Linked DNA regions of Homo sapiens: region 2 is linked to region 1. The links are contacts of gene promoters, found by promoter capture Hi-C in human tissues and cell types (Jung and others, 2019). All regions are on one chromosome and are shown on one strand. Each heading gives the region's core, a stretch centred on a gene start or on the middle of the fragment in contact. The rest is flanking DNA. Distances are from core to core; before and after follow the strand shown. Region 1 holds the start of HYPK (huntingtin interacting protein K). Region 2 overlaps CTDSPL2 (CTD small phosphatase like 2).

Region 1 (6,279 bases), core at 3,780-6,279:
AAAAAAAAAAAGAATGTCATCTCTTCAACTAGATGTAAGCTCTTGAAGAAAGGCTCAATACCCTCTGCTTTCTCTGTATCCCTTATTGTAGAGTTTAATAAATTTGTGGTTTGAATATATAGGAAATAAAGCCACAAGATTGATAAGATTTTTTTTATACAGGATGAGGATGAAGAAGTATACAAGAGAGATTTCAGCGCTCCTACCCTGGAGGATCATTTCAATAAAACCATTCTTCCTAAAGTCATGCAGGTATGGGGAACCTTAATAACATGACAGAGAAAAGTGATGTATTGATAGCTGAGGCATGGTTTGTTTGGTGGTATAACTCATCATCCATCCTTCCCTCAGGTCAAGAACTTTGGACGCTCAGGTCGCACCAAATACACTCACCTTGTGGATCAAGATACCACCTCCTTTGACTCAGCTTGGGGCCAAGAGAGTGCCCAGAACACAAAGTTCTTCAAACAAAAGGCAGCTGGGGTACGAGATGTATTTGAGCGGCCATCTGCCAAGAAGCGGAAAACTACCTAGGGTCCAACTGCTTATTCTTCCAACTGTGGAACACAAGGGGAGTCTCAGCATCTGGTCCTTGATTTGGTTTTTTCATTGTTTCCTTGGCCCCTGTATCCAGATATTGGACTTACTGCTATACTTGTGATACTGGGTAGCCCAGACTTTGAAGGTGCTTTGTGAGGTTTGGACTCATGCTGAGAAACCCACAGGAAAGCACTGTCCAGGTAGGATTAGAGGCTTCCCACTTAAAACTATTTCTGAGAAATCTTAGGTTTTATCACTGCTATGGTTTCCCATATTTACTTGGGACTGTTCTGACTTTCTTTTTCCAGCCCTTAGCTTGGGTTAGAAAAGTGGACATGTAAGTGAACAATGCATTACTTCTACCTTAGGTTTAGGAGTAATATACCCGGAAATCTAAGCTCATGGAAACATGTTTTCCATTTTTGCTTGGAGTCCGTTTTTCTAGTTGTACATACTTTTTGATCCATATATGTGTGCATGTCAAGAAATAAAAGAATCACACAACAAGGAGATTTTTAGCATGATACTGGAAATAAAATGTCCAAGCTGACAAGTATTAATTGCCTATTAAAGTAAAAGATAACAATTGTCAGGCAGAAGGTGTTTCACATTTTGATAATTCCCTTTGATCTCAGAAACAAGCTCAGGTACTAGCTTGGCTTTAGGTAGCATCTGGATTTATTCCATGACCAAATACAGATGTTTTTGAGAAGACCAAGGTCTTCTCACATCCTTTAAATGTCCCACTGGAAGAATCAAATAGTTTAGTGTCGTACGATAAAAATGAATGCAAATAATTACTATGAGGTGGTAAATACATAAAGATGAACACAGGTACAAGTCACTGTTGTGTGGGATACAATCTAAGAATTATCCTAGAGTCAGAATGAGGGTAAGGCCTTGAAACTCTTGGAGAAATGTCTGTAATTGCCATTTGAGTGTCCTTACAGCAGACTCAGGGGCCGTTGCAGGGTTTTTTTTTTGTTTGTTTGTTTGTTTTAAAGAGACGGCTCTGTTGCCCAGGCTAGAGTGCCTCAGCCTCCCGAGTAGCTGGGACTACAGGCGCCTGCCACCATGCCTGGCTAATTTTTGTATTTTTAGTAGAGACGGGGTTTCACCATGTTAGCCAGGATGGTCTTGATCTTCACTTCGCGATCCGCCCGCCTCAGCCTCCCAAAGTGCTGAGATTACAGGCGTTGAGCCACTGTGCCTAGCTGGGGCCGTCACAGTTTTATAGTTGAGGAAACTAGTTCAACATGTGTGAGTTGGTCCAAGCTGATTTTTTTTTTTTTTTTTTTTGAGATGGAGTTTCACTCTTGTTGCCCAGTCTGGAGTGCAGTGGCGCGATCTCTGCTCACTGCAACCTCCTGGGTTCAAGAGATTCTCCTGCCTCAGCCTCCCTAGTAGCTGGAATTACAGGCGTCCACCACCACACCCAGCTAATTTTTTTTTGTACTTTTAGTAGAGATGGGGTTTCACCATTTTGGCCAGGCTCGTCTCAAACTCCTGATCCCAGGTGATCCACCTGCCTCGGCCTCCCAGAGTGCTGGGATTATAGGCATGCGCCACCACGCCCGGCCCTGATTAACCTTTAAAGTAAAATTACCTTCTCTCTAGGATAGGAAATGGCATGTAGAATGTATTATGGCTTAGAATTTGAATACCAATCAAAACCTTTCATAGGTTTTTTTCGTTTTGAGACAGTCTTGCTCTGTCGCCCAGGCTGGAGTGCAGTAGCACAATCTCAGCTCACTGCAGCCTCAACCTCCCAGGCTCAAGCAAATCCATCTCAGCCTCCAGAGTATCTGGGACCACAGACAGGCACATGCCACCATGCCTGGCTTTTTTTTTTTTTAATTTTAGTAGAGACAAGGTCATGCTATGTTGCCCAGGCTGGTCTGGAAATCCTGACCTGACACAGTCCTCCCAGCCCAGCCTCCCCAAAGTGCTGGGGTTACAGGCATGAGTCACCACACCTGGCCCAACCTTTGATATCTTCTAGTCTTACCATGTTCTAACCCTCAGGTACCTAAATTCTTTTTTTGGTGGTGGGGGGAGCGCGGTAGAGACGAAATCTCACTGTGTTGCCCAAGCTGGTCTCAAACTGCTGGGCTCAAGTGATCGTCTTGCCTCAGCTTCCCAAGGTGTTGGGATTACAGGCATGAGCCACCATGCCTGGCCCCTAAATTCTTTTTTGTTGTTTTGTTTTTGAGACAGTCTCGCTCTGTCACCCAGGCTGGAGTACAGTGGCACAATCTCAGCTCACTGCAACTTCCGCCTCCCTGGTTCAAGCAATTCTTCTGCTTCAGCCTCCTGAGTAGCTGGGACTACAGGCATGCACCACCACGCCTGGCTAATTTTATTTTTTTTGTATTTTTAGTAGAGACAGGGTTTCACCATGTTGGCCAGGCTTGTCTTCAACTCCTGACCTCATGATCCGACTGCCTCAGCCTCCCAAAGTGCTGGGATTACAGGTGTGAGCCACTGTGCCCGGGCTTTTTTTTTTTTTTTTTTTTTTGAGATGGAGTTTCACTCTTTCCCCCAGGCTGGAGTACAGTAGTACAGTAGTGTGATCTCAGCTCACTGCAACCTCTGCTTTCCAATTTCAAGCGATTCCTGCCTCAGCCTCCAGAATAGCTGGGATTATAGGCGCCCACCACCATGCCCAGCTAATTTTTCTATTTTCAGTGGAGACGGGGTTTCACATGTTGGCCAGGCTGGTCTTGAATTCCTGACCTCGTGATCTACCTGCCTCGACCTCCCAAAGTGCTGGGATTAGAGGTGTGAGCCACAGCACCCAGCCAAATTATTTTTTTTTAATCACTCAAAATCAAGCATGTTGTAGGTACCAAAATTCTAACTCAAGGTGGCCTATGAACTGGGTTCATAACCTACATCTATCTATATATATAGTGGCTCCTAGGCAGGTAGCTGGCCTTTTAGATATTCATAAGCTGTCTTGGAGACACATGCCATTTGAGTACAGTAACTCTGCTGAGACTCCAGATGTACCTTGAATACTGTTGAGAGCTAGTCAGATGAATGAGACTGGCCTGCCACCTAGCATCTGCACATGAGGTATTCTTCTACACTGATTTTTCATACAGGTGTGCTAGATTTTAATGGGTCACTTAAATTCAGTTAGTCTCCAACATATAAATTCTCCACAACATAGGATATAGTATACACTCTACTTGACCCAAGATGATAAAACTGAAAAAGACAAAAAAAAATTTTATTGCCATAAATTAATCCAGTAGGTATATTTGAGAAAGCACGCATCAGTTGGTTAGGGCAATAAGCGCCTCTACCACGTTGCCCATGTGTTCCCGCAAACTGCGTTCTGCTGCTGCTCGAGATATCTCCATCTCAGTCATCTGCAGAAAAAAATCATGTTACATAGGTTCCCAGGCATTAATGTGCCACCAAATATACTGACTCCGCTTGTTTCAGGAAACAACCCAAATTAAGCAGAATAGCCTCCCCTCCGCATACACTAGTTAGGCACTACCACTCACTATTAGCTCCAGATCTTCCTTCTTGATAGTGACTTTTGCCAGTTCTTTCTCCCTGCAAAAATATTTAAATATATTAGTCCTCATTCTCAACCAACACCATAAACTCCCAGGAAGGGTCATTCCCAGAAGTGCCCTGTAAATAAATCTTGATAAACCCTTGATTGAAAATAAAAACTCCCACTAATACTCCTTTCCCCTGGAGTCTTGGCAGCAGGTGTTGCCAGGAGGCCTTCTGCTAACAAGAGTAAAGTTGTGGCGCCTAGATCTGCAGGAATTGGTGATAAATTTGAAGAACGGTATAAAGGCTTAATAATGGTTTTTATTTTTGTCTGGGGACCGGGGAGGGAAGAACTGTTAAAGTTGGCTGCCCCTGAAGACTTACCGCTCCTGTTTGGCTTTCTGCTCCCGGGACCTTCTGTCTCCAATCACAGACATGGCCTATGGGAAAGGCAGGTCTAGTTACTGCACCGCTACCCACAATTCCCAATAATCTAAAAGGCCAACAAAACAAGCGGTTCATGCATGGATTCACGATGACAAGTGTTACCAGGTAGCAAGGACTATGTTTAATTCCATTCTATGCACCTGAGGTCCCCTTAAGCCCACTATCAAGCTCCTTTAGGCAAGCGGCGCGCTCCGGTGACCGCTGTTTCCCTCGGCTCTACCCTATTGCCTCCTCCTGCCAACGGGATCAGAACCCCGTCTTGGAGCGCTGGCTTCCAGCTACAGCCTCAGAGCCCCCCTCTGCTCTCAGCCCGCCCCGACATGCTCTTGGCCAACCTTACCGTCTCCAGATTGGAACTCTGGATCTCCTTCTCCTCTGCATAGTCGGTGACCCGCTCCAAGTCCGCCGCACCGCTGTCATGTTTCCGTGGCTTCTCCGGAGGCCGCTCTGGTCCACTGGTCTCAGTCTCCAACTCCAGCTCCACATCCCCCTCGGTCGCCATATCTATTTCACCACGCCGCCGCATAAGCCCCACCTCACGCCGACTTCCGGCAACTGACACAGCTTCCGCCCGGGGAGGAGGCGGGGCTGGCCCTGGGCCACACCTTCTTTCTGCTCCAGTTCTAGAAGCTTCAGGGAGGAAGGCGGTTCGTCTCTCAGACTTCCTTTCGGGTTTGTACAGTGTTTTGTGCGAGGCCTTCTCTCAGACCTAACCCGACACCGCTCCAGCCCACCCCACCGATATCCTTAACCACCTCATAAACTAGGAATAGTCCCCTCAACACATAAACACGCACCCACCCACCTCAGGGAACTCCGTTCAACCTGAATGACGTCTAATCCTAAACCAATAAAGAATGCTAATCCACAGGGGGCCAGATAGACAAACTGCCCCCTAATCTGGAGAGAACAGCCTGAGTGGCCGCAGTGTTGAGGCCCTAAGGACAAAGCTCCTTCACAGGGCATTTGCATTTACCGCAACCTGGAGGTCAGTGTTCTCTTCCGGACGTCTCCATTCTGCCCGGGACCGGGTGCTCAGCCCCAACACAGTGGCAGTCCAATGGGCTGAGGACAGAAGCAACTGCTGCTCTCATCTGCCTTCCATCTGGTGGACCTAAGCCTAATCCCTGGGACAAGGATGGTGGGTGCCAAGGCCGGCCCCAGCCCCGGCACCTCCCTGGGCCTGGCACAGCAGCACAGCGGAGGCAGCAGTGTCCTAGTGAAAAGTCCCTTCTGTCAGGTGAGAGGGTGCGAAGGGGAGAGTGGCCGAAGCTGGGGAGGAAGACGTGCAGAAGCCAATAAAAACGACAGGCCTCTTTTCTCCTCTAATGTCGTTCTGGTTCGTTGCCCCAGGTATAATCTGTAAATCTCTCCCGCCATGTTTCCAGCCCCAGGTGTTTAGGTCGAGAGAAAGGTCAGATATCTCAAGCCTGCTTATAATGAAAGCCCTACTAAGTTGTCAGTGGGCGGCAATCCCAAATGGCTGGAATCAGCTTGAAACAGAACCTGAGTAAAAGGAAGAAAGGGGAAGGGGAAATTTTGGAATTCAACCTCCTGGGTTAACCTCACACATACATTAACGTATGCCTTTCCTCAGCAAGTCTCCACCTCGCTGCCTTGCATCTGCTCTACTCCCAGGTGTGCTGCTGTGGGCCTGCTCCTTGTGCCAGCTGCTGCCACTCTAGGTGGCCCTCTCTCACCGCATCCACTTGCAGCCGCCTGTTCTACATCCTCCTCCATGTGGGGGCCTCAGCAATCTGCTGCCTCCTGCTGTCA
Region 2 (6,279 bases), core at 1,277-3,776, 690 kb before region 1:
GAGGTGGGCAGATCATTTGAAGTCAGAAGTTCGAGACCAGCCTGGTCAACATGATGAAACCTGGTCTCTACTAAAAGTTAAAAAAAAAAAATAGCTGGGAGTGGTGTCACATGCCTGTAATCCCAGCTACTCAGGAGGCTGAGACAGGCGAATCGCTTGAACCCAGGAGGTGGAGGTTGCAGTGAGCCAAGATCATGCCACTGCACTGTCCAGCGTGGGCGACAGAGTGAGACTCCACCCCAGACAGGGTCTGGCTCTTTTGCCCAGGCTGGTCTCAAACTCTTGACCTCAAGCAACCCTCCTGCCTTGGCCTCCTGAAGTGCTGGGTTATAGGCCCCAGCCATCATGCCTGGCCCCAAACTATGTTTCTTAACTAATATATATTTACTGCGCTCTCTCAAATACCTGGTACCACAATAAACAACAACAACAAACACAAACAAACAAAACAAATTTAAGATAAAATCTCCATGCCCTAATAAGAAGATGGCCTTCTTCAGTTTTATTTCTGCTTTTAAGAATGGTGGAACACAATTCCATCTTGTACCCTGTCTATCCACCACAGTACTCAGAGGTAATGAAATTCCTGATCCATATGTTTCCACATTTCAAGGACAAATGGCTCCGAAACCCAATAATTATGTTTGGCCTTTATAAGGTTCCAAGTCAGGCTGCAAACTTAGGTATATAGGGAGATCTAGGAACAGAAGCAGTTTTTGGGGGGATGTCATTGATGTAATCAAACAAATCTGAAGGTATGAGACTGCCTCTAGCTAGTGACCTCAGACATAAGGGTCTAAGACTTGTGCAATAATAATAAGGATATTCATAAACATGAGCATATATTTTGTTAGTTGTATTAAATTTCTCCAAGCAATAAGATTAGTAGTAATAATTAAACTGTAAAATGACTAATACTTAGTCAAAATCTTTTAAAAAATTTCAATTTCAAAATGACTTTGGATTTTTGGGACAAAGCTTTGTTTCCAATTTTAACTTTTTCTTAACTTCCAGGAAGAAAAACCTATGCATATAATGTGCTCATTTAAGAAAAAATATGAAATACTGTTATTTTTTATCAACTACTCATGAAGATGTATAAGAAAAGAAATTTTCTTCACCTGTAAGGGGTGGGATATCACGATTAACTGTTTCTTCTGCTTCTTCTAAACCATTGTTTAGTGATGGTCTCACTTGAACTGCTTGATTTGAGTAAGCTGCTCCATTAGTTGATGTAGTAGTACTGGTAGTGATCTCATCCACCTGTTCCATATCAAGTTGTTTTACTATTTCTTCAGCTTCCACAGCCTGTCCTGGAGAATCTGATCCTGACGTTCCTGAAATCATGATTCAGTGTACTATCATCATTTAAAAATGCACCTATTTAGAAAAACTAAATGCAGCATCACCGTACAATATATTTATTTAGACTGATCATTCCTGCAGGAACAAAGCTGAGTATATTGCTTTTAGAGAATCTTTGCTAGCTATTTCAAACAATGAAGAATAAAGACTTACAGGCTAGAGTAACATTTGTGAGCAAAGTTTCTGCATCCTAGTCATGTGTGCAATTGTAATTTTTCAACCAGAGGTATCAAAAAATTAGCTGTTCCCCTAATCATGAGAACCTTTTAATTAAAAGATATAAAAATAATTTCTCAGCAAAACTCCATCTCAATAACAAAGACTGGGCCAGGTGTGGTGACTCATGCCTGTAATCCCAGCACTTTGGGAGGCTGAGGCAAGCAGATTGCTTGAGCTCAGGAGTTCAAAACCAGCCTGGGCAACATGGCTGTCTCTACAAAGAATATAAAAACTAGCTGGGTGTGGTGGTGCACATCTGTGATCCCAGCTACTCATGAGGCTGAAGTGGGAGGATCGCTTGGGCCCAGAAGGAGGTCAAGGCTGCAGTGAACGGTGATCGTACTATTGCACTCCAGCCTGGGTGACAGAGCAAGACCCTGTCTCAATTAAAAAAGAAAAAATAATAATCCCAGGTCTTTCCATTTCCTTCTGGAATCTTCCAAATGTCATTTTAAACAAAAATAACAAAAAAAATTAACCTCCAATATTCTCAACTTCCTTACAGAACATTCCTTCTCCCTTGTTGCTTTAAGTTTAACCTCTTTCCTAAAAGGTTTTTCTGATACCCTTCCCTCAATGCTCTTTATTCTCCCATACCAATATACTAATTGAATCAGAATTCATTTATCTCCATTGCTACTATCCAATCGCTGGTTTTCCACTAATGTGCAAAAAAAGTCTGCTCTTTTGAGACTGATGTCACATGGCTATATAATTCTTCACTTATCCTCACTGCTGGCACCTACCATCTACTGCCAGAATCCTCTCAATCGCAAAGAAGTTTAATACATAGCTACTAGTTTACTGCTCTATTTAACACAGTATTTTTTCTAGTTGTTATTACAGATGATGTCAATGACTCATCCAATGACTAATCCTCAAAGTTCTTGCCCTCTTCAGCTCCAACCACCTTCACTCATACTGCTCTATATCAGTTACTACCATAGCTATAACCTGGACATTAACACTGAGAAACTTCACCTCTGAAGCCTAAAATTCTAATACTGTATTAACCACTTAGCACAACCTCCTAACCCTCAAATTATATATCTCATACTCCCATTATATGTGATCTTCAAACTTGATAAAGGCCAGTCTGTTTAATTCCAAACACGTCCCTCAAACACTTCTTCTCAACCCTCCTCATCTAGTTAGACTTCGTGGTGTATCACTTAAATACACTGTCAAACTGGCAGCCTCAGTATCCTTGATCCCTCATTCCTCCACTGTCATCCATCAAGAAATCCCTCTTGAATCAACGTAACCAACAGGCTTCTCAGACCCTAGTTGCAGGCTATGGAACAAAAAATACAATTACAAAGACTGGTCATAATCCAAATAAAACAGAGACACAGAGACAGGGAAAGGCAGGGGGAGGGGAGGAGGTAGGTGGGGGGGAGGGGGGAAGAGACAGATGTGGGAGTGGAGAGAGAGGTTGTGTGTGTATGGGGTGGGGAGAGAGAGACAGAGACACACACAAAGAAAATATCAATGTAAACCTTCACTATTCTTCCCAAGTCCCTTCCACTAGAACTATCATTAATGACACCATCTCTTCCTTCCAAGAAAACTCTATCAAACTTCAACTCCTTCTTCCCCAGACATCTATTTCTGTACACACCTTCAGAGATATACACACCTTCAGAGATTCTTTACTTCAGCATGAGGGGAAAATATTACTACTGGGGTTTGTTTTTTTTGTTTTGTTTTGTTTTTTGAGATGGAGTTTCACTCTTGTTGCCCAGGCTGGAGTGCAATGGTGCGATCTCAGCTCACTGCAACCTCGGCCTCCCAGGTTCAAGCAATTCTCCTGCCTCAGCCTCTTGAGTAGCTGGGATTACAGGTGGGTGTGCGCCACCATGCCCAGCTAAATTTTTTTGTATTTTTAGTAGAGATAGGTTTCTCCATGTTGGTCAGGCTGGTCTTGAACTCCTGACCTCAAGTGATCCGCCCATCTCGGCCTCCCAAAGTGCTCGGATTACAGGCGTTGAGCCACCGCGCCCAGCCTGAATATTTTTATTTAAATATTTCATGGCATCTCAAACTCAGCATGGTCCAAATTACACTCAATTATCTATCTCCCAGGAACTTTATTTTCCTTGAATCTTCTACTCTTGTGCCATCTTCATCTCTATTCTCTTTCACCTCCAATCTGCACCAAAAATGTGTCTATTTTCTATCCTCTGATCCTTCCTGTCTTCTCTAATACAATTAAGGTCTCATCAAGTCTCACACAAACGACTACAAGTCTACTAATTGTTCTACCTGCCTATGGCCTCTTCAGAATCTAGTCTACACACTACTGCCCAAGTGATCTTTATAAAACATAGATCTGATCGTATTATTCACCAGTTTAAAACCTTTCAGGCCGCTCTGCCTATGGAGGAGGAGCCATTCTTTATTCCTTTTTCTTTTTTTTTTTTTTTTGAGACGGAGTCTTGCTCTGTCACCCAGGCTGGAGTGCAGTGGCATGATCTCAGCTCACTGCAGCCTCCGCCTCCTGGGTTCAAGTGATTCTCCTGCCTTGAGTAGCTGGGATTACAGGCACATGCCACCACATCCAGCTAACTTTTGTATTTTTCTTTAGTAGAGACATGGTTTCACCATGTTAGTCAGGCTGGTCTTGAACTCCTGACCTCATGATCCACCTGCCTCGGCCTCCTAAAGTGCTGTGATTACAGGTATAAGCCACGGTGCCCGGCCTATTCCTTTACTTTCTTAATAAAATTGCTTTCACCTTGGGGAAAAAAACAAAACAAAACAAACTTTCAATTATCCCATACTTGAATAAAGTTCATCATCTTACTATGTTAGCTCTATTATATGACTTCTTCATAGCTCTCCTACCTTATCCCTTCTCAAATGCAATGTTCCATCAATTACAAACTACAAACAGCTCTCAAATACACTATGCTGTTTTCTGCTGCAAGGCCTCTACGCATGCTGCTCCTTCTACCTGGAATGGCTTTTGCCACTTTTCCAGATTCGGCTTTTCTTTCAAGCCTTTTGTGAGCCACTACCCCTGCCACCCAGAAGACAGGACCATTCCATTCTTTTTATTTTTTTTTACGTGGACCCCCTACTTGGCTGTCCAAGCTTGAGTGCAGTGGTACAATCACAGCACACTGCAGCCTCAAACTCCTGGGTTCAAACTGCTGGATTGAAGCATTCCTCCCACCTCAGCCTCTGGAGTAGCTAGGACTACAGGCGTGCACTACCACGCCCAAATAATTTTTACATTTTTTTGTAGAGACAGGGTCTCACTATGTTGCCCAGGCTAGTCTCAAACTCCTGCCCTTGAGCAATTCTCCTGTCTTGGCTTCCCGAAGAGTTCAGATTACCGGCATCAGCCACCACACCCAGCTCCCAAGGAGCTGTATATTATTAATGAGGTGGAAAACATACACGAGACATTGACAAAATATGCTAATAAAATAAAAAAGATCTTTTTAAAAACTATGTATTTTTTTGCTGGGCACAGTTGCTCACATCTGTAATTCCAGCACTTTGGGAATCCGAGGTGGGCGGATCACTTGAAGGTCAAGAGTTTGAGACCAGCCTGGTCAACATGGTGAAACCCCGTCTCAACCAAAAATACAAAAAATATTAGCCGGGCATGGTGGCAGGTACCTACAGTCCCACCTACTTGTAAGGCTGAGGCAGGAGTATTGCTTGAACCTGGGAGGCAGAGGCTGCAGTGAGCGGGGAGATCGCGTCACTGCACTCCAGCCTGGGCAACAAAGAGAGACTTCGTCTCAAGAAAAAAAAAAAAAAAAAACCCAAACTATGCATTTTTTTAAAAAAAATCCAAATCACAGTTAACAGTTTATACTTACCATTTTTATTTGCTGGTGAAAAAAAGTTGAAGACAGGTGAAAATATGGTCCCCAACAAAGTAGTCCTTGGAGGACTGCCAGAGGAAGGATTATCTTCTAATTTTCCATTTTGTTTTACATGTTGATTTGTCATTTCATAACTACCAGCTTCTAAAAAAGAAACAAGAAAAAAGTCATGATCTAGAAAACACTGAATTTCAGAAGTGTGTTATAAATCATTCATTATAGAAGTAACTCTTTTTCCCTCAAAATACTTCACGAAAGCTAATTAATGTTAATGTTCAGGAAAGCTTATTAAAGAAACATTGAGGTAAATTACTCGTAAGTCAAATGCTCTTTATGTATCAATGTGTTTATAATGCTAATATTTACTGAGTTTTTTCAAAGTAGATTTACACCTATAGACTGAAAGGCTTCAAATCAACACAGTATAACACAAAATGAAGAAAATTCTTTGTAAACAAGCAAACTAGTTCCCACCAACTAAAACACAAATAATTTTATTTTTGTTTACATTCTAGGACGGTTCTAATTCATAAAACCTTCCCTCACATCTGCTTCTATCTAATGAATGACAGCGAAATGAATAGAGGCAACATAACTCTACTGAAGCAAAAGGCTATATATAGCAGTGTCAAAAATTACTTATGGACACTGAGACGCCATCTCAGAGTGGCTAGGGAAAATAATTTTAAGTTTCCTGTAAATCAAAATGTTCCACAGATCTTTTAAGAATATAAAAGTAAAATCAATCAACTGTTCTAATTAATCATCCTTTGATTCTCCTCAACTTTTGATGTCTACAACACTTATTTCCTTCTTTGCTATGGTTCTTTTAACTTGTTTCTTTCTCTATTTT

What was found. Contacts are between HindIII fragments. The study calls those that stand out against the background at their distance.
Region 2: a fragment that was not itself captured here is called in contact with the fragment with the promoter of HYPK in region 1 in 3 of the 25 tissues and cell types used here (IMR-90 fibroblasts, dorsolateral prefrontal cortex and mesenchymal stem cells).

The regions. Positions count from the first base shown.
Region 1 is chr15:43,799,349-43,805,627 of GRCh38, reverse strand. It overlaps HYPK (huntingtin interacting protein K), which reads right to left and starts at 5,029. Exons shown (of 4, transcript NM_016400.4): 1 at 4,844-5,029; 2 at 4,441-4,496; 3 at 4,059-4,110; 4 at 1,201-3,917. The coding sequence starts at 5,005. The coding sequence ends at 3,822. SERINC4 (serine incorporator 4) reads left to right here and starts at 5,408. Exons shown (of 12, transcript NM_001258031.2): 1 at 5,408-5,743; 2 at 6,142-6,279. The coding sequence starts at 5,642. It overlaps SERF2-C15ORF63 (SERF2-C15orf63 readthrough), which reads right to left. Exons shown (of 6, transcript NR_037673.1): 3 at 4,844-5,133; 4 at 4,441-4,496; 5 at 4,059-4,110; 6 at 3,039-3,917. It overlaps MFAP1 (microfibril associated protein 1), which reads left to right. Exons shown (of 9, transcript NM_005926.3): 8 at 163-252; 9 at 352-1,136. The coding sequence ends at 534. RefSeq lists enhancers at 4,753-5,002, 4,910-5,610, 5,611-6,279. The HindIII fragment of the contact is 6,811 bases long and covers 1,465-6,279 here.
Region 2 is chr15:44,485,842-44,492,120 of GRCh38, reverse strand. CTDSPL2 (CTD small phosphatase like 2) reads right to left here. Exons shown (of 13, transcript NM_016396.3): 4 at 5,421-5,570; 5 at 1,122-1,337. Among named protein-coding and RNA genes, the nearest start is that of EIF3J-DT, 48 kb to the left of the region's middle. The HindIII fragment of the contact is 5,338 bases long and covers 1-5,195 here.